Regions from separate parts of the Homo sapiens genome. Here all the other regions are linked to region 2. Evidence: promoter capture Hi-C in human tissues and cell types (Jung and others, 2019). All regions are on one chromosome and are shown on one strand. Each heading gives the region's core, a stretch centred on a gene start or on the middle of the fragment in contact. The rest is flanking DNA. Distances are from core to core; before and after follow the strand shown.

What was found. The method cuts DNA at HindIII sites, captures the fragments that hold promoters and counts their contacts. A contact is called where the count stands out against the background at its distance.
Region 1: a fragment that was not itself captured here is called in contact with the fragment with the promoter of ZC3H3 in region 2 in 2 of the 25 tissues and cell types used here (IMR-90 fibroblasts and lymphoblastoid cells).
Region 3: a contact is called between a fragment that was not itself captured here and the fragment with the promoter of ZC3H3 in region 2, in 1 of the 25 tissues and cell types used here (dorsolateral prefrontal cortex).

Annotation. Positions count from the first base shown.
Region 1 is chr8:143,332,609-143,335,454 of GRCh38, reverse strand. It overlaps TOP1MT (DNA topoisomerase I mitochondrial), which reads left to right and starts at 575. Exons shown (of 14, transcript NM_052963.3): 1 at 575-715. The coding sequence starts at 594. RefSeq lists a silencer at 418-877 and enhancers at 1,078-1,127, 667-1,351. The HindIII fragment of the contact is 3,497 bases long and covers 1-2,846 here.
Region 2 is chr8:143,540,156-143,543,093 of GRCh38, reverse strand. It overlaps ZC3H3 (zinc finger CCCH-type containing 3), which reads left to right and starts at 1,647. Exons shown (of 12, transcript NM_015117.3): 1 at 1,647-1,718. The coding sequence starts at 1,673. It also overlaps the pseudogene RN7SKP175. The HindIII fragment of the contact is 13,358 bases long and covers 1-2,938 here.
Region 3 is chr8:143,778,218-143,780,917 of GRCh38, reverse strand. All of the region lies in intron 7 of IQANK1 (IQ motif and ankyrin repeat containing 1), which reads right to left. Among named protein-coding and RNA genes, the nearest start is that of MIR937, 33 kb to the left of the region's middle. The HindIII fragment of the contact is 4,347 bases long and covers 1-2,700 here.

The DNA.
Region 1 (2,846 bases), core at 238-2,737, 210 kb after region 2:
TGGTTGGCAGGGATGATTTCGCAGGACTTCCTGTGACCTTTGTCCAGAGGCACCACCTCTGAGGGGCTGCTGTGGGCTGGACAGCAGGTGCTTCTGCCGGTTTCTGCGTCCTGGAAGTGCTGCTGTTTGTAGGGGATGAGGTAGGGGGCCATCTGAGCCTGTGTGGTCCCTTCTCCAGAGCAGCAGAGCGTGTACTTAGGAAGGACCTGCTAGGTGCCCCTGCCCTCAGAGGCTCTGGGAGAGAGCTGTGTGCAAGCCCTGGGCAGGAGTTCACTGGCCTGGTCGTGTGACCTGTGGGGCATCCTGACAGCCAGCCCTGTGCTGCAGAGGTCAGTGGGACTGGGTTTGGATCTGGGTCCCCGCCCAGCGTGAAGGGGCGCTGGACCACGAAGGCAGGGAAACCAGGGGGAGGCCGGCAGGACAGTCAGTGGTCCTGCTGCCGCAGCCCCGTGCAGGCTTAGACCGCCCAGCCTTGGGATGAGCGCCGCTGGGGGCGGAGGCCGCGCTCGGGGGCGGGGCTGGCCGCTGGGGGCGGGGCGGGGCTGGCCGCTGGGGCGGGGCCCAGCTTGTCGCTCTTTCCCGGAGGCTGGCAGATGCGCGTGGTGCGGCTGCTGCGGCTCCGGGCGGCTCTGACGCTGCTCGGGGAGGTCCCCCGCCGCCCGGCCTCCCGGGGTGTCCCGGGCTCGCGCAGGACGCAGAAGGGCAGTGGAGCCAGGTAAGGTGTCCCAGTGAGCAGGCGGCGAGGGCCCTGAGCACCGGGCTTGGGTAGGTCCAGAAAGGGGAGTGGCAGGCCTCGTGGGACGGCCTTGCCCTGCTTCCGGTTTTCCCAAAAGTCGGGCCAGGAGAGCATGCGTGCCGCGGTGTGACCGGCCCGCCTCCTGCCCGGGGTGTACAGGCCCCCCCATGACGTCGCCCTTGCTTCCCCAGGCACCACCCCACCAACCCTATTTGGGGAAATCTCCCCTCTTTTTTTCCGCTTGTGGTTTCATCATTTGTGTAGCTGTGCCTGGGCCTCAACACTGTAGGGTTTGGTTAGGTACTTTATAAAAAGCTTATGTTGCTGTGCATGGTCTTCTGAGACCCGCTCTTTCCTGGAGTCGGTTCCCGGGTTGTCTCCAGGACCGATTCTGCATGGCGGCGGGCGCTCACTGTCATATCTACATCACCAGGCACAAGCCGCATGGATCCAGTGGCCCTGGTGGCCGTTGGTGGTCCCAGGCGCTTTCCTGGAGGACATGTGAGAAGCCCTGCCGGCGCATACTGGGCCTGGGGTAGCCGCATGGGGATGGGTCTCTGCGCATGAAATGCTGGAGTTTCCGAAGAGCTGGAGAGTTGACAGCCTCACTGGTGCGTGGGAGATCCTGCAGGAGTTCCCGCCAGGTCTCGCGGTTTATCATCATTCACTTAGTGCTTCCAGCGTGGCATGTCTCTGTGACCTGGTGGTGCGCTATCAGCATACCCATTCACAGCTGAGGGCCTGCACAGCTGCCTAAGGCCATGCTGCAGAAATGTCCTGTCTGCCTGCAGGAGCTTGGGACCCAAAGAGAGCCCCAGATGGGGCAGGGTGTCTTGGGAGGAGGGAGTTCTGGCCTGCGCTTGGAGCTGGGGCTGGCTGTGGGCCCTGCATTGAGGCACATCTCTCCGAGGGTGCACAGGCAGGTAGGTGCTTTCCAAAAAGTGCTGCTGAGCTGCAGTCGCCCAGGTGGACAGGTGGGTTTGGAGCAAGGTCTCTGGCTTTGAAAGCCAGCTTGTGTCTGATGGTGGTGCTTGGTGCCCTGGTCTCTGCAGGGGTGAAAGAATGTCACTACAATGTGCAGCCCTCAGTTGGGCTTGAGCGCACACCCAGTGGTGCAGCCCTGCCTGGCCGCTGGCCGGCAGGTTGTTTCACCTCAGTGTCTTCATCTGTGAAATGAGACTGGTGATGTGACTACCCTAGAGGCTTTGTGAAGGACTTGGCAGTCAGGGTCACTGTCAGTTCTTTATTTTTATTTTTATTATTATTATTTGAGACAAAATCTTGCCCTGTCACCCAGGCTGGAGTGCAGTGGTGCAATTTCAACTCACTGCAACCTCTGCCTCCTGGGTTCAAGTGATTCTCCTGCTTCAGCCTCCTTGAGTAGCTGGGATTACAGGCACCCGCCACCACGCCTAGCTAATTTTTGTATTTTTAGTAGAGACGGGGGTTTTGCCATGTTGGCCAGGCGGGTCTCGAACTCCTGGCCTCAAGTGATCCGCCCGCCTCGGCCTCCCAAAGTGCTGGTATTACAGGCGTGAGTCACCGCGCCTGGCTCCTATCAGTTAGTTCCGAGATACACGTGGTTTCCCATTTTCTCACACCCGACATGATCCATCTTCCCTTATTCTCTAAGAAGGCGTTGTCTAGGTTTGCATCCTTCAGGGCACTTAGTGGTGCAGCCTCCTACCAGCCCCACCCTAGACATGCTGTATCAGGGCTGGTGGGCTCTCTTGAACTCCTAAAACCTGTAAGAAAGGTGAGGCTGGTCTCACCTGACGTGGAAAAGCTCTGCAGAGTCAGCAGAACCCCCCTCTCCCCGAGTCTCCCTCCAGACTCCAGCTGCCTGCAGCATCTGCCAGCTAGTTTTTTTGTACTTTCGCCATGTTGGCCAGGCTGGCCTTGAGCTCCTGAGCCTGCCTCAGCCTCCCAAAGTGCTGGGATCACAGGCGTGAGCCACCACGCCCGGCTCCACCCTGGAAGGTTCTTGAGCCCGTTAACTTCTCCCTACTTTATCAGCTCCGTCTCTACGTCTTCTAACCTTGCCCATTCCCTCCTCTGCAGAAACAGCCAGAAAGGCCCTTTCAGAAATGTCTGTTGCACATGCTTTCCC
Region 2 (2,938 bases), core at 398-2,897:
CTAATCTACCTTCTGTCTCTAGGAATCTGTATTCTAGATACTTCATGGAAGTGGAATCACACAAGATTTGTCTTTTAGTGACTGGCTTATTTTACAAAGCACAGTGTTTTCAAGGTTTATCCATGGTGTATCCTGTGTTAGAATTTCCTTCTTTTTTTCCTTTTATTTTTTTTTTGAGGCAAAGTCTAGCTCTGTCGCCCAGGCTGGAGTGCAGTGGCTTGATCTTGGCTCATTGCAACCTCCGCCTCCTGGGTTCAAGCGATTCTTCTGCCTCAGCCTCCTGAGTAGCTGGGACCACAGGTGTGCGCCACCACGCCTGGCTAATTTTTTATATTTTTAGCAGAGACGGGGTTTCACCATGTTGACCACGCTTGTCTCAAAACTCCTGACCTCGTGATCCGCCCGCCTCAGCCTCCCAAAGTGCTAGGATTACAGGCGTGAGCCACTGCGCCCGGCCGAATTTCCTTCCATTTTAAGGCTGAAAAATATTTCATTGTTTGTATGGATCACATTTTGTTTATCCTTCCATCCACCCGTGGACACTTGGGTTGTTTCCGTCTTTTGGCTATTGGGAAAAATGCTGCAGTGAACATGGGGGCACAAATATGTTTGAGTCTCTGGTTTCCATTCTTTTGGGAATATAGCCAGAAGTAGGGTTGCTGGATCATACCGTAGTTCCATTTTTGTTTTCTCCTAGAAAGGCAGATTGCCACATGCAGCGCCTCATTTGGATGTGTCTGGAATCTTGACTACCCTACCTTCTCCTACAAATGGACCTTGAGAGCTTGTTTGGAGGTTCTACCAGGGAAGCCCAGCTCTTCTATTGGGTATGGTCGTTCTCTTCGACTGAGCTGCAGCTTCGGGAGGGACGCACATGAAGCAGTGAGGAAGGAAGGGGACACCCGCCTAGCCAGCCAGATCAGCCGAATCAACCCTGGCGATCAATGGGATGACAGGTGTCGCAGCCAGATCGCCCTCATATCCGGTAGTTCTACTTTTAACCTTTTGTGGAATCTCCATAGTTTTCTGCGGTGCTGCGCCATTTACATTCCCACCAACAGCGCACAGAGGTTTACACTTGTACATGTTTCCAATGACGAACTAAAAACTTTCATGTTTTCAGAGGTTCAACATGTCTATCCAGGGAACCTTGCTCTCCGATGTCTTCTCCTCTGGCCACAGTAAGAGGTTTCACAGACCCTCCTGGGTCAAGAGTAATTGTTAACTGGCCCTTCTCCCATGGGTCCCCGCGTAGACCCCCCCCCCCCCAACACTCAACTGGGGCGAAATGAAACGCAGGGACTGTGGGAAGGAACTGCGGTATGGGCTGGGTGGGCCCCAGGTCTCGCCCCTCGCCAAGTCTCCCAAGGGGACGCGATCCCGGACTGCACAAGCTGGGCCCGCGCGGCCTCCCAGAGCCCAAGCAGTCCCTTCCCAGCCGTTACCAGGCCACTTCCCGGCGCTCACTAGTGACGTCCCCGCCTCGTTCTGCGCGTGCGCGGCTCTGCCTCTCCGCTGCCGTTGTCAGCGCGACGGCGGGTCCTCGGCGGTCGGCAGACATCCGGGCCTGCTCCTGGCAGCTCCGCCCTGGCCCGCTCCGCCCCGCCCGCGGGAAAAAGGTCGCGTAGCGATGACGTCGTGGGGGCCTGGCCGGCCGTCGCGGACTCGGGAGATGGAGGAAAAGGAGATATTACGGCGGCAGATCCGCCTACTGCAGGGTAGGTCCGGCCGGGGCCGGGACGCGAGTCCCCTTCTTTCCCCCTCACCTCGCGGCGGGTCCCCTGCCCCCTTGTCGAAGGGGTCGCTCACCGCCCGCGTGTTCTGGGTGGCGGCTGGGGTGGGGGACGGTAGGGTCCGCCAGGACTTGTGGGCCGGCTCAGGGCCCGGGTCAGTCCCCGGCTCCAGCTTTGTCGAGGGAGTGGTGCCGGCCCTGCTGGGGCTGCAGAGGGTGGAGGCAGGGCCGTCGCTTAGTAACCCGCGGGGGGCGGCGGCCCTCCCCACCACCGCGGGCTGTCGCGTCCCCCGGCGCCCACTCTCTCCCCGCGCCCCACTGCGGGGCTGGGACTAGTTCATGGCTCATTTCGGCAGAGCAGGCTAAGGGCGCACGCGGGTTCCTTCCTTGACGCCCGGTTTTTTTTGAGACAGAGTCTTGCTCTGTCACCCAGGCTGGGGTGCGGTGACGCGATCACGGCTCACTGCAATCTCCTCATCCTGGGTTCGAGTGATTCTCCTGCCTCAGCCTCCGGAGTACGTGGGATTACAGGTAGGCGCCAGAACGCCTGGCTAATTTTTGTATTTTGAGTAGAGACGGGGTTTCACCATGTTGGCCAGGATGGTCTCTAACTCCCGACCTCAGGTGATTCACCCGCCTCGGCCTCCCAAAGTGCTGGGATTACAGGCATGAGCCACCGCTCCCAGCCTCGACGCCCGGTTTTGATGCCCCTTTTCTCCGAACAGTCACACTCCCCTTGCCATTCCAGGCGCAGACTGAACAGGCTTCAGCTTCCACACTTAAACATTAAAAAACCCAAATTGGTCTTTCTAAACTTAAAAAGAAAATCCATGTTCGGACGCAGTGGCCCACACCTGTAATCCCAGCACTTTGGGAGGCTATGGCAGGAGGATGGCTTGAGCCCGGGAGTTTGAGACCATCCTGGGCAACATGACGAGAGCCCGTCTCTACAGAAAAATTTTAAAAAGTGAGATGGGCGTGGTGGCTTGCGCCTGTAGTCCCAGCTACTCAGAGGTGGAAGGTTTGCTTGTGCCCTGGAGGTCCCGGCTGCAGTGAGCCGTGATTGGGCCACTGCACTCCAGCCTGGGCAACAGAGAAAAACCACATCTCAAATAAAAAGCCAAAACCAACCAAACAAAAAAAAGCTTTAAAAATTAAAAATCCTTTTTGCTTTTACTCTCACAAAGGGAAGACTTAAGGATTGGG
Region 3 (2,700 bases), core at 100-2,599, 240 kb before region 2:
CACTGTGGAAAGCAGTATGGGAATTCCTCAAAGACCTAAAAGCAGAACTACCATTGGACCCAGCAATCCCATTACTGGGTATATACCCAGAGGAATATAAAGCAGTGTACCATAAAGACACATGCACGCATATGTTGACTGCAGCACTATTCACAATAGCAAAGACATGGACTCAACCTAAATGCCCATCAGTGACAGACAAGATAAAGAAAATGTGGTACATGCACACCGTGGAATACTATGCAGCCATAAAAAAAGAATGAGATCATGTCCTTTGCAGGAACATGGATGGAGCTGGAGGCCATTATCCTCAGCAAACTATCGCAGGAACAGAAAACCAAACACCACATGTTCTCACCTGTAAACGGGAGCTAAAGGATGAGAACTTAGGAACACAAAGAAGGAAACAACAGATACTAGGATCTACTTGAGGGTGGAGGGTGGGAGGAGGGAGGGGAGCAGAAAACTATTGGGTACTGGGCTTAGTTCCTGGTGAGGAAATAATCTGTACGACAAATCCCCATGACTATGTCACCTGCATAACAAACCTTCACATGTACCCCCAAACCTAAAAGAAAAGTTAAAAAAAGATGACTTAACATCTCTGTGCTTAAGTTTCTTTGTATATAATAAAGTCTTTGTATATAATGTAGGAATATTAATAATACTACAATCAGGTTTGTTGAGAGGATTAAACTGGGAACTTTATACATATTTCAGGAAAGTTTTGTAACTTGAAAAAAAGAAGGAAGCAAGCACTATAAAATTCAGGATATGATGATCTGGGGAGAGGTGTGGTGTTCTGGCGATACTTTATTTCTTGAGTCAGGTAGTTACTACATGAGTATTTCCTTTGTGGTAAATAATTGAGCCACAACTTTGATTTCTGCAATATTCTGTATGTCATTTGTAATTAAAAAGGAAAGTCTGAAGATGTATAAAATCAAGGAGTAGCTAAAATGAGAGAAGGGATGAATGGATAACTAGATAAATAGGATGGAAGAGTGAACAGACATACGAATGAGGCAATGATTTTGTAACTTAAAAGAAATTGTGATACTCATTTAAAATAATAATAGCTACCATTTCTTGAGAACTGACTTTGCACCAGGAATTGTGCCAAGGAATTTCATTCACTATCTCATGAATCTTCAAAAAGCTGTTATTAGTCCCATTTCTGAATATATGGAAACAGATTCAAATAAGCTTCAGAACTTGCCAAAGTTCTGTCTGTAAGTGGAAGAACTGGAGTAGACGGAAAATGAATGAAGACAGAAAATAAAAGGATAATATAACGAGTAAACTTACGAGTGTCTTAATGAATAGGCAATAAATGATGAATGAATGAGTAAATTAATGAATTAAACTATAAGAGAATGAAGATTAGATTAATTGAATGAACTGATTAAATGATGAACTGATACATGAAAAATTAATAGATGAATGAGTGTAAAGAATGGATACGTGAGATAAGCAAATGGTTAGTTGAGCAACTGGATGGATGAATTGATGGATGAATTCATCGTTCAACAAAATGTTTCAGTGCCTATCGTGGTCAACCAATACTGGGGCATACGATTAAGGGGTGAACGAGACACAGTCCTTCTTTGCTTTCTCATAATTTTCTGTCAAGTAAACAGCATGAATGCGTGTATGAATGGATGAATGGATGTCTGAATGAATAGTAGATAAAAAATAAGTGAATAATTATTTAAACATGGTGTAAGGGTGGAATGGGCACATTAATGAGTGGATAGCTTATAAGTTTATAAATTTATATATGTTTATAAGTTCATAAATTTATATATAAGCTTATAAATTTATTTATAAGTTTATAAATAAATGACTCATGGCTGGGCATGGTGGCTCACACCTGTAATCCCAGCACTTTGGGAGGCCGAGGCAGGCAGCCCACCTGAGGTCAGGAGTTCGAAACCAGCTGGCCAACATGGCAAAACCCCATCTCTACTTAACATACAAAAGAACAAATTAGCTGGGCGTGGTGGCGCATGCCTGTAGTCCCAGCTACTCTGGAGGCTGAGGCAGGAGAACCGCATAAACCCGGGAGGCAGAGGTTGCAGTGAGATTGCGCCACTGCCCTCCAGCCTGGGTGACAGAGCAAGACTCCATCTCTAAATAAATAAATAAATGACTCAAGTTAATAAGATAATTATGAATTGGCGAAAGCGCAAACCAATACTGGGGCGAGATGGATGAAGTGGGTGAATGTATGGAAACGATGACTGATGAATGATGAAGGGATGGTGATGGACAGCGTGGTTCAGCTCTTCGGTATCATCGCTGATATTCCGTCTACTTGTCTCATCAATTATGGGGAGAGAGAGATGGCAAAATCGCCTATTACCATTGTGGATCTCTTTATTTCTCCTTGTAGTTCTCATAGTTTTTGCTTCATGCATTTTGAAACCCTGTTAGTAGCTGCATGAACATTTAGGATTTTTATGTCCTCATGATGAATTCCTACATTTGTCATTACTAAATGATTCTTTTATCCTTAGTAACATACTTTTTTCTGAAATCTACTTGATGTTAATACAGTTACTTCAGCATCCTGTTTAGTGTTATCTTGGCATATTTGTTTTTATCATTTTAATTTTCAACTATTTGTGCTTTTACATTTAAAGCTTGTTTCTTATAGGTAGAACATAGTTAGCTACAATTTTTAATCCAAAATGACAA